4 separate regions of the Homo sapiens genome follow, and all the other regions are linked to region 3. The links are contacts of gene promoters, found by promoter capture Hi-C in blood cells and fetal thymus (Javierre and others, 2016). All regions are on one chromosome and are shown on one strand. Each heading gives the region's core, a stretch centred on a gene start or on the middle of the fragment in contact. The rest is flanking DNA. Distances are from core to core; before and after follow the strand shown. Region 1 holds the start of CZIB (CXXC motif containing zinc binding protein). Region 2 holds the start of MAGOH (mago homolog, exon junction complex subunit). Region 3 holds the start of ORC1 (origin recognition complex subunit 1). Region 4 holds the start of CPT2 (carnitine palmitoyltransferase 2).

The links. The method cuts DNA at HindIII sites, captures the fragments that hold promoters and counts their contacts. A CHiCAGO score of 5 or more calls a contact.
Region 1: a fragment that was not itself captured here is called in contact with the fragment with the promoter of ORC1 in region 3 in 1 of 17 cell types (fetal thymus); the score reaches 7.1 in fetal thymus.
Region 2: a contact is called between the fragment with the promoter of MAGOH here and the fragment with the promoter of ORC1 in region 3, in 1 of 17 cell types (fetal thymus). The highest score is 7.7, in fetal thymus.
Region 4: the fragment with the promoter of CPT2 here is called in contact with the fragment with the promoter of ORC1 in region 3 in 1 of 17 cell types (fetal thymus); the score reaches 6.1 in fetal thymus.

The regions. Positions count from the first base shown.
Region 1 is chr1:53,217,478-53,220,687 of GRCh38, reverse strand. It overlaps CZIB (CXXC motif containing zinc binding protein), which reads left to right and starts at 54. Exons shown (of 8, transcript NM_017887.3): 1 at 54-118; 2 at 344-427; 3 at 1,765-1,821; 4 at 2,193-2,274; 5 at 2,485-2,516. The coding sequence starts at 113. It overlaps CZIB-DT (CZIB divergent transcript), which reads right to left and starts at 328. Exons shown (of 1, transcript NR_185918.1): 1 at 1-328. RefSeq lists a silencer at 1-282 and an enhancer at 152-653. The HindIII fragment of the contact is 2,201 bases long and covers 621-2,821 here.
Region 2 is chr1:53,236,336-53,239,828 of GRCh38, reverse strand. MAGOH (mago homolog, exon junction complex subunit) reads left to right here and starts at 1,311. Exons shown (of 5, transcript NM_002370.4): 1 at 1,311-1,468. The coding sequence starts at 1,381. MAGOH-DT (MAGOH divergent transcript) reads right to left here and starts at 1,219. Exons shown (of 3, transcript NR_038953.1): 1 at 484-1,219. RefSeq lists enhancers at 1,300-1,429, 1,470-1,529, 1,017-1,658. The HindIII fragment of the contact is 5,872 bases long and covers 493-3,493 here.
Region 3 is chr1:52,402,637-52,405,914 of GRCh38, reverse strand. ORC1 (origin recognition complex subunit 1) reads left to right here and starts at 1,492. Exons shown (of 17, transcript NM_004153.4): 1 at 1,492-1,669. It overlaps PRPF38A (pre-mRNA processing factor 38A), which reads right to left and starts at 1,313. Exons shown (of 10, transcript NM_032864.4): 1 at 1,036-1,313; 2 at 76-235. The coding sequence starts at 1,165. RefSeq lists an enhancer at 794-1,993. The HindIII fragment of the contact is 1,229 bases long and covers 431-1,659 here.
Region 4 is chr1:53,194,903-53,198,341 of GRCh38, reverse strand. It overlaps CPT2 (carnitine palmitoyltransferase 2), which reads right to left and starts at 1,518. Exons shown (of 5, transcript NM_000098.3): 1 at 1,247-1,518. The coding sequence starts at 1,398. RefSeq lists a silencer at 1,175-1,534. The HindIII fragment of the contact is 6,053 bases long and covers 1-3,439 here.

The DNA.
Region 1 (3,210 bases), core at 472-2,971, 810 kb before region 3:
GGCCCGGCCCCGGCCCCGCCCTACTGAGGGTGCGCAGACGGCACCCGCCTTTTACGACGCGCCGGAAAGCAACGGCAAGGGCCGCAGCCAGCACCGGGCGGAGAGGGCTACCATGGGGGTGAGGGGAGGCCGCCCGCCGCGGGGACACGGAGGGGAGGTGGCGAGGGTCTGGGAGGCAACAGCTCGCGCCAGGAGGAGATGAAGCGAGTGGGTGCGCGCTGAAGGAGCAGGAGGCAGAAGGAGTGTCTCCCTGTGGCACCCACGGCTGGGAATGCGGGAGGGTCGGGCAGGCGTGGGGCTGCGCAGGCACGGCTGACGCAGTCGCTCTGGCCCTCCCCCTCAGAAAATCGCGCTGCAACTCAAAGCCACGCTGGAGAACATCACCAACCTCCGGCCCGTGGGCGAGGACTTCCGGTGGTACCTGAAGGTGCGGCCGGGGCGGGGCCCGGGGAGAGGAGGCCCGTCCTGATCTCAGTGCTGAACCGGAGCCTTCTCTCCGGCAGTATGAGAAAATATTTAACCAGGCACATTAAGTGTTCGGGGTTTTCCTAGTTAGAATTTTACGTTTGCTTTCTATTAAAGTGTATTGGTTTATCTCTAATTGGCAGTCTTGGAAAGCTTCATTTTGTAGTTCTTCCCTGTGTTAAATATTTCGTGGTCTGTAAATGGACACTAAACGAAATGCTACTTGAAGGGACGCTTGTGATTATTTAATAAGGTGAATAGTTCGCCTTTCGTTTATTGATTTGGTTTTCTTTATTGTGAAATAGTTTAATTTTGTGCGTAATCCACCCTTCCTTAGCCCTCCCACACTGGTAAAGCTGGTACCCTAGTGGCATGGTCTACAGAGGCCTCCCCTTCCCCAGCAGTTCGAGGCTCTTCACTCTTCCAGATCCCAGAGCTTCTGCTCTGTTTTACTCCTGGTCAAAAATCCCAGCATCCTTCTGTACCTCTCAAAAGCCCTGTTTTTCGGGAAGCTGCCTCCGGACTACTTTTGTTTCCCAGGATTTTGAAGCCTGAATACCAGGGCTTACTTGGGAGAATCTGTTCTTTGGCTTGAAGAAGCGGAATCGAGTGAAGGAGACAGAAAAATAGAGTAACAATAGAGTGATAAGTGCTTATACCAGTGACATACAGGGCCTGTGGGAACATAAAGCTAACCAAGCAGAGTGGGTCGGGGGCCTGCTGAGGCCATTTCTCTTTTTTTTTCTTAATTGACACAGAATTGTACATATTTATGGGGTATATAGTGATGTTCCGATAAATGTAATGTATTGTGATCAGATCAAGGTAGTTAGCATATTCACCTCAAACGTGTATCATTTCTTTGTGTTGGGAGCATTTAATATCCTAGCTATTTGAAACTATATATTATTGTCAGCTATAGTCATCCTACAGTGCTATAGAACACTAGAACTTATTCCTCCCATATAGCTGTAATTTTGTATCTTCTAACAAATCTCTCCATATTCCCCCCCCTCACCTCCGCTGAAACCATTTCTGCACCACAGGTGCCTTGAATCCCCGGCCACACTGAGCACTTCATAGAGGAGGGTGGGCACGCCGGCATAGGAAACAGCCTTACCTATCCTTTGCCCAGAGATAGTTCTAGTTTTGTCCTTGTTGGGGCAGGTGTTAGGGATGAAGTGAGATTGCCATCAAGAAGGTAGATCATGAGCCTGCCCACCTCCCACTGTTCTTACCCTTTCCTTGGTGTCTGTGCAGCAGAGCCAGCTGCTTTACTAACATTCTTTTTCCCCAAAGATGAAATGTGGCAACTGTGGTGAGATTTCGGACAAGTGGCAGTACATCCGGCTGATGGTAACTGTTCCCCGCCCAACCCCCAACATAAACACTCACAAACACACATACACTTCTGGGCAGGGATTTGGGGAAACTGGCCTTCATCTCTCCAGTTCTTTGCTCCCTGCTTTTTGTGGTTTGGGAGGGTAGGTGTCAGTGTGATCAGCACTGGATTCAATAGGCATCTTTGAGGTATGAGGCAGAGTTCAAAATCAAGGGGAAGCCCTTTTTTTATTTTCCTCAGGAAGCCTTCCCAGGAGTCTTGTCCTAGTAAGTTACCCTTTCTGGGTCTTGGTCTCTTTAAGTGGACAATAAATGGTGGGCTCGATCTCCTCAGGACTGTACATCTAATTCATATGTGACTGAAAGTTCTGTTTGCTTTTTGCCAGGACAGTGTGGCACTGAAGGGGGGCCGTGGCAGTGCTTCCATGGTCCAGAAGTGCAAGCTGTGTGCAAGAGAAAATTCCATCGGTAGGTCAGGCTGTGCGTACTGAGTTCTGCCAGGGTGGCCCACAGCTTCCTGGCACCAGGCTGAAAGTAGACTCATGTTACCTGAGGGTGGAGTCAGGCCTAAGATGCCGACACCTGTACAGCGTGATCTTTTTCAGGGCCACATGTGGGCACCTGGCTGGGGCGAGGGTATGGACTCAAGTCAACTTTGTGTTCTCTTTTCTATTTCAGAGATTTTAAGCAGCACCATCAAGCCTTACAATGTAAGTTTGCTGCTGTAGTGGCAGGGATGGTGGGCTTAAATCCTAACTGGAGTTAGTAGGTCTGGGTTCTAGAGTCATGCCTGCATCAGAGTGACCTGCCATAGGACATTCACTCATGAACTTAGTTCTTCTTTGACTCAGTCATTTATCCACTGTACACTGAGTGCTTGGTATATTGCCTCTTGCAGTGCCTTCTTATGAGGGCTGGGCTGTGAGAGCTCAGGGGACCTCTGACACAACCTAGCTGTTCAGTTTGCATCACTGAGAGCACTTGCCTTGTCTTCATTTTAGGGGACTAGCAAGCTTTCTCTGAAACCATGGGTGGGGTAGTCGTTTGGTGCATCCCATCCTTTATATCATCAGTGTTAACAAGTTAGCCCAAAGGTGAGGGAGGGTGTGCTTTGGATCTGTTTGTTTAAAGAAAGCCAGTTATATGTATTCACCTATTCCTTATTTGGTATTTATTTAAAGTATCTTGAGTTGTGCCAAATTCTTGGCTTTGTCCTGAAGTTAAAGAGAAATTAAATGAGGACTCGCCTTCACGTACATAATAATCTAGTGGAAAATACAAAAAACAAGAATCGAACTAGGGCCCTAACAGAGAAGTGCCTTACCAGTGCCAGAGATGTGGTCAGTGTGCAGGAAATTACTTTACAGTGAATGACAGGATGAGACTGAATGTAGGGCATGGCAC
Region 2 (3,493 bases), core at 62-2,561, 830 kb before region 3:
CCAGCTACTTGGGAGGCTAAGGCAGGAGAATCACTTGAACCCAGGAGTTTGAGACCAGCGTGGGCAACATAGGGAGACTTTGCCTCTACAAAAAGTTTAAAAATTAGGTAGGCGAGGTTGCGGTGAACTGAGATCACTCCATTGCACTCCAGCCTGGGCAACAAGAGCGAAACTCCGTCTCAAAAAGAAAAGACTGGGAATAGGAATCAGAGACTGCTGTCCCAACTTACAGAATCGTATACAGTTCTAGCCGCCAGGACCCAAGAATGATGTCATCTCGGCACTGTCTCTAGAACCATTCATTCTTTCTAAGCCTGGAACTTAGATGAGTGAAAGCAGGTTCCTATTACATAATTATGATCTTGATTGCCCTGGGCCTACTCAACTGTAAATTTTTTCCAGAGCCAGAAAGGCTTCACAGAGGACAACTTTACCCTGAAAAGAAAGGACCTCTTTGGTCAGTGGTCCTCAACTCTGACTCACCTGAAAGCTTTACAAAAAGTACCAATGCCCAGGTCCAGCGCTGGAGATTTTAACTGGCTTGGGGTAGAGCCCTGGCATCAGTATTTTTAGAGGCTTCCCAAGTGATTGCAATGTGCAGCCAGGCAGAGAATTACTGCTCGGTAAGTGGGATGACTGGGGAGTGGGAGATCAAATACTCTAACGTCTCCCAGCACCTATTCTAGAGATCAGTGGGGCAGAAAGGTAGAAATAAAAGGTGGAAAGGGATGAAATGGGTAAGTGTGGGTGAATTAGTTCCAGGAAAACGGCAATCTCCACTGTGGATTCAGGGAAGGCGTCACTGAGGAGGGCTTTCTTAACAGTTCAGGTCAGTGGAAGCCAACTTGAGGCACACATCGTGCGCGGCATCCTCCGGGGAGGTCGGGTCATTTCACCCCATTTTACTGCCGAGATGACCTAGGTCCAGAGACGGTAAAGAGCGGTGTACGACTCACACAAGTCGGGGGTCCTGTGAACCGAGGTTGAGCCTGGCGGGCCTTCGGCCCGAGGTCTTTAAGCGAAGTCACCAGACCCGGGGTTCAAAGCCCAGAGGTAGGCAGGCGGCTGGCTCTCCGCCTCAGGCCTGGAGAGAACCCAGGGGTATGAACCTCAACCTCGCTCCCGCGTCCAGCTGGAGGGGCGGAGCTGGCTGGCCCCGCCTCCGGGTTAAACAAAGTTCTTTACAGACTAGGCGTGAGGGGATGTTGCAGTCTTGTTGCCACTTCCGGGCGAAGAGGTTAGCGAGAAGGAACCCCTCCACGCAGCGACGACGGGACCTGACGTCACTTCCGCGCGCCGCCGCAAACGTCAGTGTCGGGCGCAGACGGCGGCAGTGCGGCTTGCTCTTGGAAGTTCAGGCTCGGTTGTCTTTTGGGAGCCATGGAGAGTGACTTTTATCTGCGTTACTACGTGGGGCACAAGGGCAAGTTCGGCCACGAGTTCCTGGAGTTTGAGTTTCGACCGGACGGTAAAAGCAGCCTGCCGCCCGCCGGGAGCGGGGACCAGGCCTGGGGGCCGGCGAGTGGGGAGGCCGAGGGTCGGAAATCTGTGGGGAACTAGAGGAGGGAGGGACTGAGACCTGTGCAGTGCAGATCTTAAAGGAACGCCACTGTGTCTGCTCCACGGGGTCTTTCTATCCATTCAGCAAACGTTGACTGAACGCCCACTGTGTGCCAGGCTCTGTTCCACTCTTTGGGAATACGGCAGCGAAGGTAGACAAACTTCCCCTCTCGTGGAACTTGTGTTTTACTGCCGGGAGAGAGATCATAAACAAAAAGATGATTCCAGATAGCAGTGAGTGGTCAAAAAATAACATGGTAGAATAATTGCTGGATGGGCTGCTTTTAGATAGGTTGGCCATTAGAGAGCTCTCTGTAAAGGGTATATTGCAGCCGAGTCCTAATTAACAAGAAGGGCTCAGCCTTGTGAAGCTCATAAGGAAGACCATTCTACACAAAGGGAATACCAGATGTCAAGGCTGCAGGGCGGGAATGAGCTAGGCGTGTCTCAGGTGGTCAGTGTGGTTGAAGAGTGGTGAGCTGGGAGATAGCAGGAGATGATGTCGGATAGGTAGGTAGGAGCGGCACCTCTTAGGTCTTTATAGACCACGGTAAAAAGTTTGGACTTGGAAGGCCTTTTTTTTTTTTTTTTTTTTGAGACGGCTTTCGCTCTTTTTGCCCAGGCTGGAGTGCAATGGCGCGATCTCGGCTTATTGCAACCTCCGCCTCCCGGGTTCAAGTGATTCTCCTGCCTCAGCCTCCCGAGTAGCTGGAATTATAGGCGCCCACCACCACGCCCGGCTAATTTTGTATTTTTAGTAGAGACGGAGTTTCACCATGTTGGCCAGGCTGGTCTCGAACTCCTGACCTCAGGTGATACGCCCGCCTCGGCGTCCCAAAGTGCTGGGATTACAGGTGTGAGCCACCGCGCCCGGCCGGGCTTGGAAGGTTTTAAGCAGAGAAGAAATGTGATCTCTTCTTGAAAAAGCATTCTGGTTATTGGGTGCGGAATGGGCAAGAGTGGAAACAGGGCTATTGATTAGGAGACTGTTGCAGTTGTCAAGACACGAAAGATGTTGGGGGCCGGGCGCGGTGGCTCAAGCCTGTAATCTCAGCCCTTTGGGAGGCCGAGGTATGCGGATCACTTGAGGTCAGGAGTTCAAGACCAGCCTGGCCAACATGGTGAAACCCCGCCTCTACTAAAAATACAAAAATTAGCCGGGTGTGGTGGCAGACGCCTGTAATCCCAGCTGCTCGGGAGGCTGAGACAGGAGAATCTCTTGAACCTGGGGCGGAGGTTGCAGCAAGCTGAGATAGTGCCACTGTACCCCAGCCTGGGTGACAGAGCAAGACTCTGTCTCAAAAAAAAAAAAAAAAAAAGATACTGGTTGGGACTACAGAGATAGTAGAAATGGAGAGAAAGATTTAGGAAACTGTTGGAGGCAGAACCAACTGGACTTTGATCGTTGATAGGATTTTGTTGGCAGAGGCACTGTGGTGAAGGAAAGAGCAATCAAAGATGACAGAAGACATCCACTAAGTGGGGCACAAAGATGAATCTGACAGGCCTCGACTGTGAGGGAGATAGATTTGTAAGCAGTGATAAAACAGCACATTAGGTGTTGTGGTAAAAAGAAACAGAGGAGGCTCGCAGCAGAGAAGGGTGCACCTAACCAAGCCTGAGGGTCAGAGGAGGCTTCCTACATAAAATGATGGGAGGAGGGGATGTGAGGAATTGGTTAGGAGACGAAGAAGAGTCAAGAAGGCATTTTAGACAGCATGCAAAGAAGCTGAAAACCAAAAAGTGCTTGGGATGTTTCAGGCAGAAACCAAGTAGTTTGACTTCAGCTGTGTGAGAGAAGAATATTGGCAGGAATGAGGCTGGAAAAGCAGGCAGGGGCTTAGCTTAGCTGTATGCCATGTTGAGGAGTTTGGATTTTACCAGGAAGGCAGTGGAAAGCCATTGACTTTATCAAAGTATTAGAGTAACCTAA
Region 3 (3,278 bases), core at 243-2,742:
CCCCTCTTAACCAAAGCCCAATTCTAAACCGCCAAAATTAAACCTCTTATATTAGCTAGTGAACATTGCACTCACTTGAAATCTTCATTTTTGATAAACTCTACAATGATATCCTTCTCGGGTTGAATTTGAAGCATCTTCAAGGTTAAACACAGAAAGGGTGTTGGTTTTATGTTGCCACCATAGACGCCACCCACAAACCTTAACTCCATGGCTTTATCGACTACAAGTTCAGCTAAAAAACAAAAACAATACAGTAACATATTAGGGCTAAGCTCTTCCTAGTTGGAGTGGAGTTAGTTCAAGCTTTGGTTCTCCTAAATATACATCAACAGTGTAATATTAGGAGAACGAATGTGTATTAATAACAGTAACGACAACAGCTAATATACATTGAGAATGGATAATAAAATAGGTACCCTGCTAAGCTTTTCATATTATCTCACTTAACCTTTTTTAACAAGTCATGAAGAAAGTTCTAGCAATGTTCTTATTTCCAGGTAAGGAAAATGAGGGCTAAGAAAGGTAAAGTGACTTGCTCAAGGTCCACAGATTGTCACAGGACATGGATTTAAAGCCACAATTCAAATCGGAAGATTACCTGGAAGACTTCTCTGAAGCACTGATATTTATAAATACTGGAACCGGCCCAGATCTAAGAATAGTAAGATCATGAATTTGGTTTCAGGCATATTAACGTTAGGTCCTTAAAGACCTTCAACAGATTGTGTCAAAGTGTTATATCCGGATCCCTGAGCTTAACACTGTTGCAACCCAGCCTGCTATCATTAAATACGGAATAACTCACAACACCCAACTGAGACAGCCTTCAGAATATGACCTTACCAGATTCATCTGTGCCTCTAATACTCAACACAAGACGAGGCACTTAGCAGGCACTCAAAATTTTTCTGAATGATCGACATACTCCGTTCCAGTACCACCCCCAGAGGCCAGTCGCTAGTCCTACCCGCGCTCGGTCAGGAGAAATGGGCCACAAGGGGGCTGAGAGGCGCTCCGCGCGCTTCCACTTACCTGTAAGTCCAAAGCACTCCTCTTTCCAGTACTTGGACTCATAGATTCGCGTTCGAATGATCTTCTCCACCAGATATTGAGGGTTGGTGCCATGGATGCTGTGCGCATCCTTCACTGTACGGTTAGCCATTTTAGAATGCCTTCAATTCTATTTCCGTCGGATCCTTTAATGCCTCACATCCAGGTTCAGAAAAAGCACCTAGAGGAATGGAGAAAGGTGGAAGAAGTTTCACTAAACAGCTTAGGCGACCATCTTGAAGCCGGAAACACCGTAGTGTAAAGGGCTTCCGCTCCCCGCGTCGCCTATCGAATCAATGATGGCGGCTGCATGTTAGCGGATGTACGTCATGCGCCCCTCTTAGGTGTACGGAGTGGGCGGGGCGAGCTAGTTGGTGTCGCAACGAAGGGACGGTCTGGGGGCGGGGCCACGCCGATTGGCGCGAAGTTTTCTTTTCTCCTTCCACCTTCTTTTCATTTCTAGTGAGACACACGCTTTGGTCCTGGCTTTCGGCCCGTAGTTGTAGAAGGAGCCCTGCTGGTGCAGGTTAGAGGTGCCGCATCCCCCGGAGCTCTCGAAGTGGAGGCGGTAGGAAACGGAGGGCTTGCGGCTAGCCGGAGGAAGCTTTGGAGCCGGGTGAGTGTGGCGTCCAGCGGGCTGCGAGGGACTCGGGGGAGGGCGCATCGGAACCTCTGAAACTGAGGACGTTCTCTGTAGACTCAGTCATTGATTCTTTTAGCTGACATGTACCAAGCGCCTGTTCAGTGCCAGGCACTGTTCTGAACTGTTAAGAGCGTTCCTCTGTTCCACACTCCGATTCCTAAAAGGCTTCCCGCGCTGCAGGGAACTGAGTTTGCAGGGGGGAAGGCGGAAGCCAACAGCCTAGAAGCAGGAGCATTCCTGCCCTCCGCACCCTGATGCTCAGTGATGACTTTCCCTCCATCTGCATTTGTAAAGCACTCTACTTGTTTCGTTCTTTGAGCTATAGTGTAGGAACCACTACAGGGAAGGCGGAGCAGAGGTTATTACCCCATTTTACGGACGTAAATTGCGCCCAGGGAGGGACGTGTCTTAGGTCGCTTTTCGTGACTAAGCAGTCTGGGCTCCTACCCAGATCTTTTTTTCAGATGAGCTCCTAACTGCTGGGCTGTCTGTCATTCACCTTCTTTTCAGAAGAGAAGTCTGGTGGCCCCCTTCCTACTTCTCTTTTCTAACCCCGGAATTGAAGAGTCTTCTGCTGTGACAGTTGGAAAAGGCATTCTTATCCTGATCTATTTGTGAAACTGCAATGATTATATACGATTCTAGTTGTCTGTAACACATGAATAATAGTACCCTCGTCTCTGCTGTGTTAGGTGGGCTGGAAATGCCAAAGGAGTTTCCAATATGACAGAATGGTTTAAGTCCCTTTGCAACAGTTTTTAACTTTAATGGAGGGCAATATGTGGACTTTAGGAGGTTTGTGAATCTGCCGAAATTGAATGCAAAATTTTGCTTGAATTATGTTAGTTCCATAGTATTCATCAAATGATACTTAATAAATAAAACCACTGTACCTTACAAATAAATGCAAGGGATTAAGGTAGTGGGAAAGTGGATTTACCATTTTGCATTTTTTCACTTAATCTTCCATTATCCTAAAATAGTGCCTGGCACACGATGGGTACTTAATAAATATTGGTTGAATAAACGGAAGATTCTATTTTCTCCATTTTGTGGGTAAGCAAATTGAGGCCCAATCCACAATGTTCAGTCAGTGGCTGGGAAGCCTGATTTATTGTAATAAGTACACCAAAAGCAAGCTCTCAGTTACATATTAACATTATCCAGTTTCACACAGTGTGTTGTAAGGTGAAGTAGTTAAGAGCACAGTAATTGCAGTCTGGCTTTTCCGGGTTTGAGTTAAGGCTGTGCCATCCTGTATAAGATAGGATAAGTTATCACCTTGAAGTGATAATAACATCTACTTTTCTTTTTTTTATTTTGAGACAGAGTTCTGCTCTGTCACCCAGACTAGAGTGCAGTGTTGCGATCTCGGCTCACTGCAGCCTCCACCTCCCGGGTTCAAGTGATTTGCCTGCCACCATGCCCACCTGATTTTTGTATTTTTAGTAGAGACGGGGTTTCACCATGTTGGCCAGGCTGGTCCCGAACTCCTGACCTCAGGTGATCCACCCACCTCAGCCTCTCAAAATGCTGGGATTACAGGCGTGAGCCACTGCGCCCAGCCTTTGTATTTCTGTTT
Region 4 (3,439 bases), core at 269-2,768, 790 kb before region 3:
CCCAGATGCAGAGAAAAACAACCCAGCAGCTCGGGTGAGGCCTGTGACACAATGTTCCACACATGGGGAAGAAGCCTGGCCTCTAGCTCTTGGAGTGTGGGGAATCCCTGAGGGCAGTTTGGTGAGAAATAAGGTGAGAAGGGTCTTTGAGACAAATTTTGAACTTGGCTCCAGGAACTGAGTTACTCACTCAGTAAGTTAGAAGTTAGTTTAGGTTTGGTTTAGAGGGTGAAGAAAATTTCTAATATTGAAGAAGGAGATCTGGCAACTCAGACGAAAGCGGAGTTCGAAGGCTGGAAGAACTGGAAGCTGGATTTAAGAAAGTACTGGGGGAGGGAAGGGGAAGAGGATTTACTAGGGCTCTTTTCAGAGGGGAAGTCGATTCTGGGTGAAGTGTTTCGAAGGCAGGGTAGCCAGTGGTGAGGAGGAGAAGAGAAATTTGGGTGGACCCTGGATCTGAGTATGATGGAGTGTGGATGGGGTACTGAGGGTGGTGTCTAGAATTCTGTGAGGGTGAGCTGCACTTACAAGGGGTACTGTGGGTGAGGAAGGATATTTTGAGGGGAGGAACCTGTTGAGGAGGGCTTGGAGAGAGTGAAAGGTTTCCGGGTGAACACTGGATTTAGGAGATTAAAGATTTAAAAACATGGGGGAGGGTCAGTTGAGGACAAGGGTGAACACTTCAGGGCTGTGCTTGTGGGGGCTCATGGGGGGTGAAAGAACAGAGTACTGGAGAAATGGGAGGTGGGGCTGAGGGTCCTGAGTGACAGGGGTGAAGGCGGTGCTGGGAGAAGTTAAGGAATGGTAACCATGATGTATTAGGAATCAGCCTACCCATATTCCGGGTAGGAATGTGAGGCAGTCATTAAAGTACTTCAGGAGACACCATAGTCGAGGGATTACAGCGGCGCTGGAAATATGCAGGTCTGGCATTTTTCAGGGAGAAGAGGACTCAGGATAGCTGGCTGGAAGTTAGGTTAAAGGAGAGGGAATCTGAGAAGCGTTCAAGATGGAGAATCTGAGATAGCATCGAGGGGTTCTGGAAGAGAATTTGAGGGTTCTGAGGTTCCTGTGCTAGGAGATTGTGAAAAGTCCCAAGACTTCCAGATTAGGGGCTGTGGCAGCCTCCATGGTAGGGGCTTGGGGGCGGAAACGGGTTCACTAGAGGAGTCATGAGTGACTGCAGTCAGGTTGGGGCCGATCCTGGGACGGCGGCGGGCGGCGGGGACCCGGAGGCCAGGCTCACCTGGGCAGGCTGTCCTGGTAGTGCATGGTGGGCACGATGCTGCGCTGCAGGTACTGGCCGGGCCCGGAGCCGGCGCTGAGGGGCCGACTGGGGGCTCCCGGACCAACCGCGGGGCCCCGGGGCCAGGCGCGCAGCAGCAGGCGGGGCACCATCGTCCCGGGAGCCTGCGGCGGCGAGAACGCGGCAAGTGGGGAGTTCTGGAGTCTAAACACAAGGCCGCCGCCGCCGTTAGCGCCCAAGACACTGCGTCAGGACTCCTGAGGCACTTCTCCGCCCGCAGGCCACTTCCGGCCCCTGTAAGGCCATCGGCTCCGCCCCGGACTGGCTCCTTCCGGGCAGGGGCCGCTCACTGACAGGCCCCGCCCACTAGTAGGCCCCGCCCGGAAGGGGGCCCCAGCCTCCGCGCTGCTCGTCTCCCTTCCCTTCCCTAGGAGGCGGGAAACCGAGCGCCGCAGCCGCTCCTTCCCCTTTTTTGGAGCAAGACAGAAACTGGAGTTGGAAAAAAAAAAGAAAAGCTAAGAAACGTGATTGGAATCTGATAACCCAAAATTTGATCCAGGCTCCATCCTTGCGAGACTGTGGACTAAATTTTAAACCTCTATTTCCTCACCTAAGAAGTAGATAGATCGTAATGATTCAAAGTACCTCCCAAAATTCTAGATATGAGATAAAGATAACATGTTATGCACAGTGCATGGTGCTTAATAGGAAAGCAGTAAACGGTAACGGATGTTACTGTTGTTAGTAATCCGTGCTGAAGGTCATTGACATATAATGACCCTGAACCCTGCACAGCTACTGCCCTGCCAGCTCACCTGAGTGGATGGATATTAGAAAGGATTTGTGCAGGAGTTGGAAACCTGGAGTTTCCCGCTGGCCACCACTTCAGTGCAGAAAGCCCCTTCCGAGCGGAATCCCCTCTGCCTGAACATCCATTCTTGGCTTGAGCATTTCCAAAAACAAGAAGCTCACTGCTAAGAGGAAAGAAACCCTTGTCCTCCGGCTCTAGGAAGTCTTCCGTGTTCAGTCTATTGGAAGAGGCTTCCTGTCACCACAGACCACCTCCAAGATTCCTTCCAACTCCTGACTCTAAGATTCCGCTACTTGAACATAGATCTATCATCCCTCATCCATCACAAAACAGCTGCAGAACAGCCCACCACGCCCCAATCCCTGATCTTAGAAGTAGCTGCAGGATTAAGTAGGCTCTACTCCCATTTTACAGAAGAAGACAGGGAGTTACCAAAAGACACACAATTATGCTGCCTAGCTTGAGGCACAACAGAATTCCATTTTGGGAACAGAACTGCCCTTTAGCCGTTTGGGGCAGCCAAGTACATTCTGTCTGTTCCATAATTGGCTAAGCAGAGCCAGAAGCTGGAGCACACCAGAAAGAGTACTGGATTGGGAGTCAGGAGACCGGACTTTTAGTTTCAGCTCTTTGTTATCTAGTTAGGTGACCTCGGATTGAACAGGAAGATCACTAACCAGCTCTGGCACTCATTCAGTGGTGATCACAAATGCTTAACCCATTTCCCGTTTAGAAAAAAACAGCGCAGCTTGCTGCCAGCTCTTATTTCTTAGGGCAAATGGGAAATGGCTTAAGAACTAAGCATGAAATTCAGAAACACTGAATATCGAATCCTCCTCTCTTGAGGGGAGAAAAGGCCCAACTGGCCCAACTCCAAAACATCGGTGCCATTTGCCTGTAGTGTATAAGGCCAGAGGGAGAATATAAAACTCTTTCTGAAAATGAGCCATCTCCTCTAAATCCTGATCATTTTCAGAGCCTTGATACCCGAGGCAAATATCGAGATCTGTGTAGTGCTAAGGGGATCAGAGGACCAGGAAGAAATAGTGGGCCCAGTAGAAAAGCAGCGGCTCTATTCTAGAGACAGAGGGCCAAAAGATTGAGCCCATCCAATCTAACAGCCAAAAGAGGGACGTGAACACCTTTGGTGAGTGCATGGCCAATGGGAGCAACTCTAAGCCTTTAGGCTGGTGTCCAAGGCCTTCTGAATTCTGACCCCTACCTACTTCTCCAGCTCCCATCATGTCACCCCAAAATACTCTATGCCAGGGGTGTCCAATCTTTTGACTTCCCTGAGCCACACTGGAAGAAGAATTGTCTTGGGCCACACATAAAATACACTAATACTAATGATAGCTAATAAGCAAAAACAAAACAAAATT